2 separate regions of the Homo sapiens genome follow, and region 2 is linked to region 1. Evidence: promoter capture Hi-C in 16 types of primary human blood cells and fetal thymus (Javierre and others, 2016). All regions are on one chromosome and are shown on one strand. Each heading gives the region's core, a stretch centred on a gene start or on the middle of the fragment in contact. The rest is flanking DNA. Distances are from core to core; before and after follow the strand shown. Region 1 holds the start of CDKN2B-AS1 (CDKN2B and CDKN2A antisense cis and trans regulatory RNA 1). Region 2 has its middle 120 kb from the start of CDKN2B.

Region 1 (6,680 bases), core at 4,181-6,680:
TTTTATTCTAATCAATGATTTCATTTGAAAAGAAAATTTTCAAACATGGGGAAAGCTGCAATATAAGAAGAAAACAATGGAGAGACATCGTCACTGGAAAAATACTACGGGCCACTCTCTATACCATCCTGCACCCCCAGATGGAGAAACTGAGGGAAGTCGTGGCCTTTCAACACTCTTGGGTCTCCATCTGGCTTGGAAGGGAACGAAATGGCTGTCAAGAGTCTCAGAAGCGCACTTTCCCCGTGGTTCCTCCGGGTAACCCTGACTCACTTTTCATCTACCCATCCCCTCCAAAACAAGGCCTAGCCAGTTCCAAGCTGGAGAGGTGACCCAGAGTTGCCTTCTGTCATGTCCTGCCTTTCGTCTCGAGTCCACTAACCCCACTCAGACTCTGTCTGCTCCCACCCCCACCGCGGCCAGTGAAATCCCAATCGTCTTCCACGTGGAACCCCAGGTCCGCAGTTATGATAACGGATCACATCGCTCCTGCGGAAAGTGCGCGCGGTGGAGTGATAATTGGACCTAGCGTCTAAATTCTTGTTGGAGGACCTCGTTCCAGCTGCCAGTTAAGCCTCTGGGATCCGCAGCGTCTCTAGGAATTGAGAGAGTGGGGAAGTTAGGATCCAGGAGGAGGATGGTGGGGGCTGAGGAGTGGAGGAGCAGCGTGCATCTCATCTCTTGTCGCCGGGCGGGCGCTCTTTCGGGTCCAGGGCCCTTGCACCCCCAGCGTGGCTCCGGAGGCGGCGAGACCTGCCTGAAATTGATTGGAGGGGACTAGAGTGTGCTTGTGGGGTGGGGTAGTGGGGGCGGAGAGAAGAGATCCCAAGAAGGGCGCCAAGTGCTGTGACCAGAGGCCTAACACGAGGCACCTTGGAAACAGGTATAGCTACGGATTTATGGGTTTTAAAATGGAACGTCTTGGTGAATGGACATAGCGTGCATTTCACAGTCTGACGTCACAGCCCTCGCAGGTTTTCCCAGACCTTAAAGCCACGTTCTCGTGTATGACACTTAAACAACTCAGTTTCCTTGTCTTTCCTCCCTCCCTACCCATCTAAGGGTAGAGAAGCTCTTAGTTCATCCACTGTGTAGGACTGTTACCGTGTGTCAAAGGCTTTGGAAATGTATATTTTACTGATGATGGTCATAGCACTTTGGAAAACTCAAAAGTGAAACGAAGAAAATAAATATCACCAAACTTTTTCCCAACCCCTCTCATCCTGCGGAAACCATTATAACTAATTTGGTGAGAGAGAGAGAGAGAGAGAGAGAGAGAGAGAGAGAGAGAAACTGTTTACTGTTTGGAATCTTGCTTTAAAAAAACCTGACTTTATAATGCAATCATTTAACAGTCTATGAAATATTCTTCAGATACCTGATGATCCAGAATGTAACTGTACCATAATTTAACACTTTATTGCTAGAATTTTATGCAGTTTTTGATTTCTTGCTACTACTTATCCATCTGTATTAATCTTTGTCAGAACCTTTCTTTCCTTAGGATGATGCCTGAATATAAAATAGCTGAATGAAAGTGGATGGGTTCATTTTAAAATACAAAATTGTTTTTCTTGATGGTGAAGTGTTTAAGAGGTGGATTAATCTCATTGGGCAACAAATAGAGAAGATATTAGTAGTTAGGTATATGAGAATCAGAATTCAGATAATTTGTCTTAAAAATTCATATTCAATGTAAAAATTTTATATTTAGAAAATGAAACTGTACCCATTGTTTATATAACTTAAACTGCCAAAATAAAGCACCACAAAAACTTTTTATCACGTTGGTTTTTGTATCAGGCTGGGCTTTGCAGCAGATGGAGGAGCTAGGGCAAGCTTGTCCAACCTGTGGGCCCGAGGGTCACATGCAGCCCAGGATGGTTTTGAATGCTGCCCAACACAAATTCATACACTTTCTTAAAGTATCATGAGTTTTTTTTTTTTTTTAAGCTCATCAGCTATTGTTAGTGTTAGTGTATTTAATGTGTGTCCCAAGACAATTCTTCTTCTTCCTATGTGGCCCAGGGAAGGTAAAAGATTGAACACCCCTGGCCTACAGTGTTCTACTATGAAGTTTCAGTTTTAGTTCGGCCTAGAATGTTTTAGTACAGAAGGCAAGTGAGATTTTCTCTGTTTCTCCAAGGACTTTTGAAAAAGTGTAAAAGCACTGGGCCCACTGTTGAACCTTGCTATAAAAAAGTATTTTTGATACCATTTGTATCACTTTAGTAATAGGAGTTTTTCATATGTTGGGAAAATGGTTTAGCTTAACTCTATCATGGTAGTTGATAGTGATGAACTAACGTGGAATAATAGATCTGTAAACCATCATAGACGGTAATAGGCTATGTTGTTGCTACCTTAGGATCATAATGGACTTTCTAAAATTCAAGAGTACTCAAAGAAGTAAAATGAATATAAGTCTTGATTTCTGAAAGGGCTATGGTTCACTTGGAACACAATACAAACTGTGAATCATGTACACATGGGGAATAATGGTTTATACTAACTGCACAGTGCTTACCTTGAGAGGACTCTGTGCTATTAAAGAAAAAAATAACCTGAGCCTTCTGAAGTAGCTATAAACAAATGAATATTTAACTTCATAATAAAAATATGACTATTTTGTAAATGCACCAAGGTAGAAGTAACAAATCAACTATGGCAATTTTTCAGGTTTCTGTGGTTAAGAAACTGGTAACGTGGAATTTTAGTATATGTATTTCCAATCATATAAAAATAAAAAGTCATAATAAACATATTTGCAGAAACTTAAAAAAAGTTAAAATAACATCTTATTTGCAATGATATTAAATAATTCATACAAGTAATTTTTAGCACTTGTGCCTCTCAAGGAATTGTATGAATCCTAACATAATTAGTATCCATATATATTCCCAAATCAATATAGCCATGGGCATAAAATATATTAATGTGAAATATATAATTACATATCATTATAATTAACACCGCTAGATTTTATATTATGTATATCATTTTACATATGAAATTGGAAAATTGCATATATTTCAAGACATTCTATCCAAGCTGTGTTCTATCTTGAGAAACTTCCTGAAGATTGCGCTTTTCACATACGTCCTGAAAATTGATTTATACCTAAATAACAAAAAATGATCTATTTCAATGAACCTATCATTTAAATATTTTTGCATTTCATGCATATACATTAACATACTATAAAATATTTTCTCTAACTTAAAATCACCACAATGTTATGTTTTATAGGCCTAAACTAAAAAATACATAATTATGGCATTTATATACATTGACATGTTCTACTTTGTTACTACAGATTTTCAGAGGCAACTTAATAATTTAAACAAAATGATTTTATATAGAATAATATTAACTAGAGTAATAAATATTTTTATATAGACAATAATATTAAGAACTATATTCATACAGTTACCGGTCACAGTGGCTAAACTTTTGCTGATACGGATAAACCACTGTTAAAAAAAACAACAACCAGGGTCTTGTCAATGTTTCAAAATGAATTAAAATCAAATCCAGCAACAGGCCCTGAAATCCTTTATAAGCTCCTTTGACTAAATTAAAAAAATTAACTTGCATAATATGAAAAGTAAAAAATAAAATGTGCATTTATCCTATAGATTATAAATTTTTGCTAATAGAAATTGAGACACTAAATTAAACACTGATAGTTTTAACAGGTTTATATTTCCATGTCAAAGAGACAATTAACATTGCAGTAAAAAAATAATTACCCCTCCGCTGGCCTTTGCTTTTTGAAGCTATATATTCCTGGCGAAGCATACCACAAGGACGGTCATAAAAGTGAAGCCTCATTAAATTACTTTTAGACTTATTACACAAGTTTTAATTAGCATTGTACATATTTTAACTGTACATATATTCTTTCAGTTTTCCTGGTTATAGGAAATTACACTGGCTGTGTCAACATTTGTCAATGTGAGGACAAAACTACCTTGGATTCTGTTTTTCAAGAAGTAGGCCTCATTTTTAAACTGTGCTAACTGTCGTCTGAGATGACTAAAATACTATCAGTTGGGATTTCTCAGGAACAGTTCTACAGTTCTGTCGTTTGCTAAACATACGAGCATTGTCCCGAGCAGTTTCAATCACTCAGGCCGCCGGACCTCTACCTCTAACTCACAAAGAAAGCCCATTTCCCTGTTGGCTGCAAAACTCCCCCAAGAAGCAAGTGCTTGCTCCTCGCAGCAGTAACTGATCCTACGATCCTTGTTAGCATTTCAGGAAGTCGCTGCCTGCGTGCCCCGTATCTCACGGGTCCTCCACTCTCCTGGAAGGTGGGAGAGGGTGACCCCGCCGGGAGGCTGGGGAGAAAAAAGGCCGCCTCCAGAAAACTTAGATGGTTAGCAATAATTCTCCCCAAGGAGAAAGAAAGTGTGCTTGAAATACACCTTTCCTACTGTGTGTGTGTGTGTGTGTGTGTGTGTGTGTGTGTGTGTGTGTGTGTCTTAGTCATTCCCACCCAGGATATTCGGGACTCACTGACTTCTGAGGTGGGTTTAGAAGCTCTGTTCGCCTCAGTTTCCCACGATTGAGGGGCTGTGTGAAGGGAGGTCCAGGTTCAATGGTACTGCGAGAACCACATGTCTAAGTCGTTGTAACCCGAATGGGGAAGCCTCCACCGGCGGTTATCTCCTCCTCCTCCTAGCCTGGGCTAGAGACGAATTATCTGTTTACGAAATCACACCAAACAAAACAAGTGCCGAATGCGCCCCGGACTTTTCGAGGGCCTTTCCTACCTGGTCTTCTAGGAAGCGGCTGCTGCCCTAGACGCTGGCTCCTCAGTAGCATCAGCACGAGGGCCACAGCGGCGGGCGCCCCTGGCGCTGCCCACTCCCCCGTGAGCCGCGGGATGTGAACCACGAAAACCCTCACTCGCGGCGGGCCGCACGCGCGCCGAATCCGGAGGGTCACCAAGAACCTGCGCACCATGTTCTCGCCGCCTCCAGGGCCGAGCTCGGCAGCCGCTGCGCCGCCCTTTGGCACCAGAGGTGAGCAGCGCCACTCCTGCCCCCTTAACTGCAGACTGGGACCCACGCACCGCCCCCTGCCCATCTCCGCCCCGCAGGCGCGCACCCGCCTTCCCTGAGCGCGCCCGCCCCCCACCTTCACCCCCACCCCCACCCCACCCCCACTCCCACCCGGACCTCCAAGATCTCGGAACGGCTCTGAGCCCTGCGCACGCGGGAAGGGCTGCCGGAGGCGCCCGTAGGGAGGCGCGCGCGCGGGCGGCTCAGGGCCCGCGTTCCTCTCCCTCCCGCCTACCGCCACTTTCCCGCCCTGTGTGCGCCCCCACCCCCACCACCATCTTCCCACCCTCAGCGCGGGCGCCCCGCGGTGACGGCCCAGGGGCCGGACGCCTGGAACGCAACTCCAGGCAGCTCGCCCCCTAGCTACATCCGTCACCTGACACGGCCCTACCAGGAACAGCCGCGCTCCCGCGGATTCTGGTGCTGCTCGCGTCCCCGCTCCCCTATTCCCCTTATTTTATTCCTGGCTCCCCTCGTCGAAAGTCTTCCATTCTTCAAACTAGATTATTTAAAAATGAAAAAGGAAGAAAGGAAAGCGAGGTCATCTCATTGCTCTATCCGCCAATCAGGAGGCTGAATGTCAGTTTTGAACTAAAAGCCGCTCCGCTCCTCTTCTAGATTTGGAAAACAAGCGAAATTAAACTAAACCGCTGCACGCCTCTGACGCGACATCTGGACACGGCGCGGCGCTGGCGCTGCCGGAGCTGTCGACCCGGCCTGGCGCCGGACTAGGTAGGTGGAGTCGCACCCGGGGGTCCCAGCTGGGTCCGGGCGCCCATTCCCCTCCCAGCTGCCCGCGTCGCCGAGGGCGCCTGGCTGGGACAAGCACCGAGTCCTTTGTGTCTAGCCCATTTTTATTTTCGGTTTTAACCTTCACGACAGCCGCGGAGCATCTGAGCGCTTCTTCCTCTTTCCTCTTCCCCCGCGCTCCCCTCCCCTGCTGGCCGCTCCCCTCCTGTCGCCGCGTCCTCGCGTAGAATGGTTGTCTTGGCGACCGTTGGCCGCTGCCGCCTCCACGCTCTGCCCCGCGCCCAGACACCCCGACTCCCCTTGATCCCGCCGCCTGACTCCTCGGCGTACGTTCTCTCTCCGGTCTCCCCCTCCATGTCCCCTCCTCCCCTTTTCTTCCACATCACCGATCCTTTCTGGACTCTCTCCCTTCCTCCTTTCCAGCTGGGAGACAGGAAAAGCGGTCCTGTTTGGGAACAGTAAAAGCAGGGCAAGGAAAGGAAGGAGCGGCAGAAAGGAGGGGTGAGTCGAGGACACAGGGGCAGCCGGAGAATGCGGAGGAGCCGGGTCCTGAGCGCGGTCTAAGCGAGGCTCGGCTCTCGTCCAGGAACTCGGACGCGGGCTCGCCGGCTCTCCGCGCGCGGGAAGTCGAGCCCAGGACGCCGCCTTCAGGCCGGCGCGCTGACCCGGTGCCCCGACCCGGAGCCTGCGGTCTGCCTGGATCCGTCCTAAACCTCGCGGGCTGGACCCGCGGCCTGAGTGGGTGGGTGTGTGCCAGAGGATTCGGGACTAGGCCCAGCTCCGGGAACCTGGAAATGTGGCCCGCTTCTCAGTGGCTTCCTGTTCATGCGCTTGGGCCTAGTGGCCTAGTTGAAGAAGTGG
Region 2 (6,680 bases), core at 2,804-5,303, 140 kb after region 1:
TCGTTTCCTCTGGAGAATAAAATGAGAGGTCTATCATAGGTGAGAAAATAATTTTTTATTATATATTCTTTTGTAGGTTTATTTTTTTGTCATGTGTATGTATTCTTTTCAAAATAATAAAAACAATAACAACGATTAAAATATACAAGGGGAAATGCATTGGCCAAGGTTTAGTTGAGAGCAAAGTTTGCTTATCTTTCGAAAGAGGTGAACTAAGCTTTTCCTTTTTCTCTTTGGGTATACTTGAATGGGGATGGAGTAAGTGGATTCTTTTTTTTTTTTTTTTTTTTTGAGACGGAGTCTCGCTCGCCCAGGCCGACTGCAGTGGCGCTATCTCGGCTCACTGCAAACTCCGCCTCCGGAGTTCACGCCATTCTCCTGCCTCAGCCTCCCGAGTAGCTGGGACTACAGGCGCCCGCCACTGCACCCGGCTAATTTTTTGTATTTTTAGTAGAGACGGGGTTTCACCATGTTAGCCAGGATGGCCTGGATCTCCTGACCTCGTGATCAGCCCGCCTCGGCCTCCCAAAGTGCTGGGATTACAGGCGTGAGAAGTGAGTGAATTCTAAGGAGTATCGAGAACAGTGATTAAAACAGAAGGTGGGGAGGTGTCATAAGCTTATTTGTAGGTGAAGTATTAAGACTAGAAGAATGACATTATGCATCAAATCTTTTACATTGTTTGATCTCTTTTACCTAAAAACAAAACAAGATACTTTTTTGTTGTTTGACATATGACCAATTAGCAGCCAGTTGGAGCTAAATGTTTTCTTTTTTCTTTTTCTTTTCTTTTTTTAGATGTAGTGTCACTCTGTCGCCCAGGCTGGAGTGCAGTGGCGTGATCTCGGCTCACTGCAACCTCTGCTACCCAGGTTCAAGCGATTCTCCTGCCTCAGCCTCCCAAGGAGCTGGGATTGCAGGCACCTGCCACCACGCCCAGCTAATTTTTGTAGTTTTGGTAGAGATGGTGTTTCACCATTTTGGCCAGGCTGGTCTTAAACTCCTGACCTTGTGATCCACCTGCCTTCGCCTCCCAAAGTGCTGGTATTACAGGCATGAGCCACTGTGCCCAGCCTAAATGTTTTCTTTAAAAGCAAGGTAAGTATGCCTAGATGCACTGCCTCTTAGTAATTTTTGAGGATGGATTATTCATTAAATTGCTTCCCTTTCTCACAGCTGGTGAATTAGAACGATAGTGAGCTTACAAGAGCTTTAACGAGGAAAAGATGGTCATTGTTTAACAGAGAAGGATGGTTTGGGTGAGCATTTTTGTGTTTTTGGAGGGGAACTTTGAGGGCAATGAGTGTTGCACCTGTGTCCACTGAGGATCTCTGGGCGGGGTAAAAGGAAGGCAGGGATGAGAGTGAGGAAGGGAGACAGGAGGGTCCCAAATACGAACTTTGACTTAACGAGGATGATTACTAGAAGGGAAAGATTGTGGATTCATTGATGAGATGTTGAACCATGAAAACTCTAATTGTAGAACTCACTTCAGACTGAATTGACTTGGCTTTCAGTAGCAGAAGCCCTTTGTCTACTTCTCTAGTATTGAAGTGAATGCAAATTTCTCAATGTAAGAAAAGTAGAGTGGTGAAATAAGAGTGTGGGTTCCAGGGTCAGACAACTGGGTGCATAAAAAGGGTAAGGATGCTACAACTGGTAAGCCCTGTGAGAATTATTTAATCCTTCCATGTCTCATTCCGCTCATCTGGAAAATGATGATCATACTAACTTATGAGATGTGTGTACAGACTAGATATAATATTAAAACATTTCTGATACCTATGCATTATATTGGATCAATATATATTTGCAATAAATGATCAACTTTTTATTAATGAAGTTAGTACTTATTTCATAACGAGATTGTTTACTTCTAATTTACTAGTATTGTCATTATTACTGTTGCTGTTATACTGCTACTGCTGTTGCTACTAACTCTTTATGAAGTACCTAATATGCTCTAAGCCTTGCTCTAGGTGTTGTATATGAAGTATTTCTAAACCTGAAAACTATCTAAGATGGCTCAGTCTAGCCCATTTTATAGACGAAGACTGAAGCCAAGAGAGTTGAAATAATGAGTAAAGTTGAGATTTGACTTTGTCTTCCAAACAACTAGAAGCATAAAGCAATGGACCAGGTTCCAAAGTGACAGGGAGGGGCATTAGTTTGGCCCATAGGCTGCAGAGCCTGTGACCACAGAGCCCTATATATTCCAGTGGTGAATTATGTTTGGGAATGTGGCAGACCATATGGCTATGGCATCGTTAGACATGAGGTGGAGAGAGGCAGATGTGTGGTTACTCGATTGAGTTGAGAGATGCCATGGAAAGGAGGAAGAAGAGCCTGAGAGAGCAACTTCACTCATGGGGAGAGAAGCTTATGTGGAGATAAGCTTCACTTCACTAATGGGGAGATAAGCTTCACTTATGGGGAGACAAGTAAGGAAGCAGGGATCTCCAGAGGATGTGGAGTATGCCTGGTACTTTCATTGTTCTTTTTCCTTATTCTTCTTTATTCTTTTCATTATTTTACCTAGGTTAGATGTTAAACACTTCCTGTTGTTTAGTCAGGCTTCCTTTTCTAATTATAAGACTAAACACTAAGATTTCATTTGTAGATATAATTATTAGAGAATTTTGATAAAATTTCCAAGCAGTGTTCCCTCTGTTTATCATCGTGTTCCCTGCTGTTATTAGTTCACAGTTTGGTCTGGAATTACTCCAGTTAATCTTGGGGTTTCAGGAGAGAAATTGTGCTCAGGGTACATGAGAAGAGAAAGTTTAGAAAGCGAAGGGCTTCCCTGTCTAGTTTCTAGCTCAGAAAAGCAAAGATATTCTACTTTCATATGTATGATAATTGGAGCTGAGCTGACTTTAAAAACAGATAATTTTTCTTTTTTATCCCTAATAAATAATGGTGCTTACAGCAATGAGTGTTGCTGGTAACAGATTCCACCAATGGGTGTGGTGTGAAGTTTAGCATTTGTGGATTTTGCAGCTTCTGCTATTGTCTACAGCATTTCCTCTCTTGTCTCGGAGGTTCATACTTTCTCAGGCAAGGACACTTTTAACTCCAGATAAATGTCTGGGTTTTCTCACTCCAAGGATAAGAAGGTGGGGGTGATGGAGTGGTGGTGGTAGTTGTGGAGTTGTCTTCCTGGCAGGGATTTCATTGTGGGGGAAAGTCTGTCTTTAGAAAAGAAATGTAAACTGGGCAAGTAGTCTCATCAGTTAAATGATTTCCTTGTTGACATAAGGTGAGGAAAAGAAGAACAACTTTTGGGAAAAGTAACTGTGAGAATACAAGGGAAGAAGAAAAATAAGGGGTTGAACATTGAGGAAGACTTATGAGACAGATAAAGTATAAAGGCAGGTAATTTGTTCTTTCAATTTGGCATGGGGACAGTAAAAATTTTTTCTTACTAAACAAATAAAGCCCATGTATTTCTTCTGCTCTGGGAGCACCAATTATATTGAGCCTCTAAATAAAGAAAGTCAACATCCACAAGTGTTCTAAATTCCATCTCGTAGTGAGAGTCCTGAAAATTGCAATAGCTAGAGTCAATACTTGGAGTATATGCATAAGACGTGGTGTCTCAAATAGGATTAAGGCCTACTCTTGGCATCTTCTGTTATTGGTGTTGTTTCTCTGTATTGATTGGTATAACGTTAGACAAAACTGCAGGTCATCTTTGAGAAAAACTCAGTATAAACAATGAAAAAAATGTGTAGCTGCACATGTAATTTGCATGTAACAAAACCAAAGGATGCTTTAGATAGTAACAGCAGCCTGTACTTTACTCCAACCCATTAGTTTTATGATAAATGTGGTCTGGGGAAGTGCTCGATCTAGGTTGTTCACTTTGTGTTTTTGTTTCTTTCTATCATTCGGGTGTTGAGTCACCTGTTTGTCTGTGTCAGTGTCAGAGCACTGGGTCACATCCTGCATTGTCCAGGTTTTATTGGTCCCTTTCTTAAATTAAAGCTGATTTTCCACTTAAAGAGAATTCTGTCTCCTTCTGCAATTGTTCAAAGTCTAGCATCTCAAGTGCAGACTCTAAACTGTATGTATATGTATTGTGCAGGCTATCTATCTTCTTAGCTTTGAATTCTCTAGAAATATTCCAGAGGTGTGATTCCTCTGTTATTCAAGAGTGATTTCCAAATTGCCTCAGCCAATGTGCCTGCACAAGTTGTTTGTAACTCAGGGTGTAATGGGAAATGCTTTAGAGCCACATTTGTGGCTTTTGATGGGAAAAAAAAAAAATCAGTGTCCTCCTAAGACTTATACAGTCCTTGAAGCCTTTTAGGCTATTCCTGCATCTCATGTTGCATCCATACGGACTATTTAGCCATATTCAACACCATCCTCTTGCTATTTTGTTAAGATTTGACTGTTGTTGTTGTTGTTTTTAAATATAAATGTGTGATCACATGCACATACACAGACAATGATGTGTAACTCATAAACATGAAAAGTAAAAATTTGAATTTTAACTGAAGAAAAATCAGCATTATTCATAAAAAGCTGGTAAGATATTCTAAAAGTGGAAATTCATGCAGAAAATTGATTCTTAAGCACTTACTAAATGCCAGGAATATTTTACCAGCATATTATCATTTAATTTTTAAACAAGTTTGAGAGATAGAGATGTCTTATTTTATAGAAGAGGCAACTGGGGTTCTGAAATGTGAAATAACTTGCAAAGGCTATGGTTAAGGGCAGGGCCAGCCACGTGTCTAGTGTCTCTGACACCTGAGATCACACACTGTATGCTGGGCTTCAATTAATTTGCAGCTACTTGTTGCATTAAATTCACAATCCTTGCTTTCATCATAATAAAAACAATAATAATCATACAACACAACTATTTTCAGTGAGCTCTGGCTAAGGCCATTTGATTCAGAGTCAAAACCTTCTATTTGTATAGTATTTTATATTGTCAAAATCTAATAAGGATAGTTTTCATATCTGACGTAAACCAAACTGATCTGTCTCCATTTGATATAGTGACATATCAAATTGTTACTTTCATATATCTTAGTCAACCTCTATGTTTATCATTCTCTATGTTTTAGAAAGTAAAGAATTTAAAATTACTTCAGAAAGATTTCTTCTTCATAAACATAAAATGATTAGATGTCCCTTTTAAAGGCAACAGCTTCTTCTTTTTCTTTTTTCTTTTCTTTTTTTTTTTTTTTTTTTTTGAGAAGGAGTCTGGCTCTGCCGCCCAGGCTGGAGTGCAGTGGCGCCATCTCGACTCACTGCAAGCTCCACCTCCCGGGTTTAAGCCATTCTCCTGCCTCAGCCTCCCGAGTAGCTGGGACTGCAGGCGCCTGCCACTACGCCTGGCTAATTTTTCGTATTTTTAGTAGAGACGGCGTTTCACCGTGTTAGCCAGGATGGTCTGGATCTCCTGACCTCGTGATCCGCCCGCCTTGGCCTCCCAAAGTGCTGGGATAACAGGCGTGAGCCACCGCGCCCGGCCAAGGCAACAGTTTCTTAATGAGAGAGTAGAAATGAGAATTCACATTCATAACAAAGAGTTTATTGTCTTTCCTAGTATACTGTACTATCTAGTAGCTAATCTGTCTAAAGACATGTTTCTTATCTATTAATAGTCCTATTAATAATGTAAAGTAGCTTTAGATATGCCAAGCTGTTACTGGCTGGGGAACTAAAAAAGCTTCCAGAGTTATATCTAGAAAGTCTTTGGGGTTTCTTAATGTTATGTGATTAGCAACTAAAACTGTGACAGGAAGGAAGTCCACATGAATTGAGCATCTACTAGTTTCAAGATTTATCATTATGCACATTACTTATAATAACTTTGTGAAGCTGATATTAACTTTACAATGGATAAAAAGATAGATGAATTAGTAATTTACCTCCAGTGGTGCAGACAGCAGGATTTGAATTTAGTCTGTCCAACACCAAAGCCTCCGTACTTTTCATTACCCTGCATCCATCTAGTTTAAAAAATAAATGTACTAGGCATAGTGGCTTGCACCTGCAATCCCAGCTGCTTGGGAGGTTGAGGCCAGAGGATCACTTGAGCCCAGAAGTTCAAGGCTGCAGTGAGTTATGAGCACACAACTGCACTCCAGCCTGGGTGATAGACAGACCCCATCTCAAAAAAAAAAAAAAAAAAAAAAAAAGAGAGAGAGAAAATAAAAGAAAAATCGAATGTATTGCATTTCATGTCTGGACCACCTGTATGAGAAAATTGGGCACTTTCTCTCTGAAGTAACTCATACTAAAAACAAACACCTTCTTCCTCCCAGGAGCTTCCCAAGGTTGAAGAGAGGAACCCTGAAGCTCTAATATGCCTAAGATGCTCTCTGGTGTTATCTAAAATCAAAATATATCACCTAGAGCACTTATTTATTTATTTATTTATTTTTGAGATGGAGTCTAGCTCTATCACCCAGGCTGGAGTGCAATGGCATGATCTCGGCTCACTGCAACCTCCGCCTCCCAGGTTCAAGCCATTCTCCTGCCTCAGCCTCTGGGATTATAGGTGCACGCCACCATGGCCGGCTAATTTTTGTATTTTTAGTAGAGATGGGGTTTCACCATGTTGGTCAGGCTGGTCTCGAACTCCTGACCTCGTGATCCGCCCACCTTGGCCTCCTGAAGTGCTGGGATTACAGGCGTGAGCCACCACGCCCGGCCAG

Evidence for each region. The method cuts DNA at HindIII sites, captures the fragments that hold promoters and counts their contacts. A CHiCAGO score of 5 or more calls a contact.
Region 2: a contact is called between a fragment that was not itself captured here and the fragment with the promoter of CDKN2B-AS1 in region 1, in 1 of 17 cell types (M2 macrophages). The highest score is 5.1, in M2 macrophages.

What each region holds. Positions count from the first base shown.
Region 1 is chr9:21,989,361-21,996,040 of GRCh38, forward strand. CDKN2B-AS1 (CDKN2B and CDKN2A antisense cis and trans regulatory RNA 1) reads left to right here and starts at 5,431. Exons shown (of 19, transcript NR_003529.4): 1 at 5,431-5,801. It overlaps LOC124902130 (a long non-coding RNA gene), which reads right to left and starts at 4,668. Exons shown (of 2, transcript XR_007061436.1): 1 at 4,526-4,668; 2 at 1-3,120. It also overlaps a transcript of CDKN2A not described here. RefSeq lists enhancers at 46-190, 96-678, a cis regulatory region at 118 and silencers at 5,105-5,364, 5,685-5,884. The HindIII fragment of the contact is 17,311 bases long and covers 1,838-6,680 here.
Region 2 is chr9:22,126,305-22,132,984 of GRCh38, forward strand. It overlaps a transcript of CDKN2B-AS1 not described here. Among named protein-coding and RNA genes, the nearest start is that of CDKN2B, 120 kb to the left of the region's middle. The HindIII fragment of the contact is 3,268 bases long and covers 2,420-5,687 here.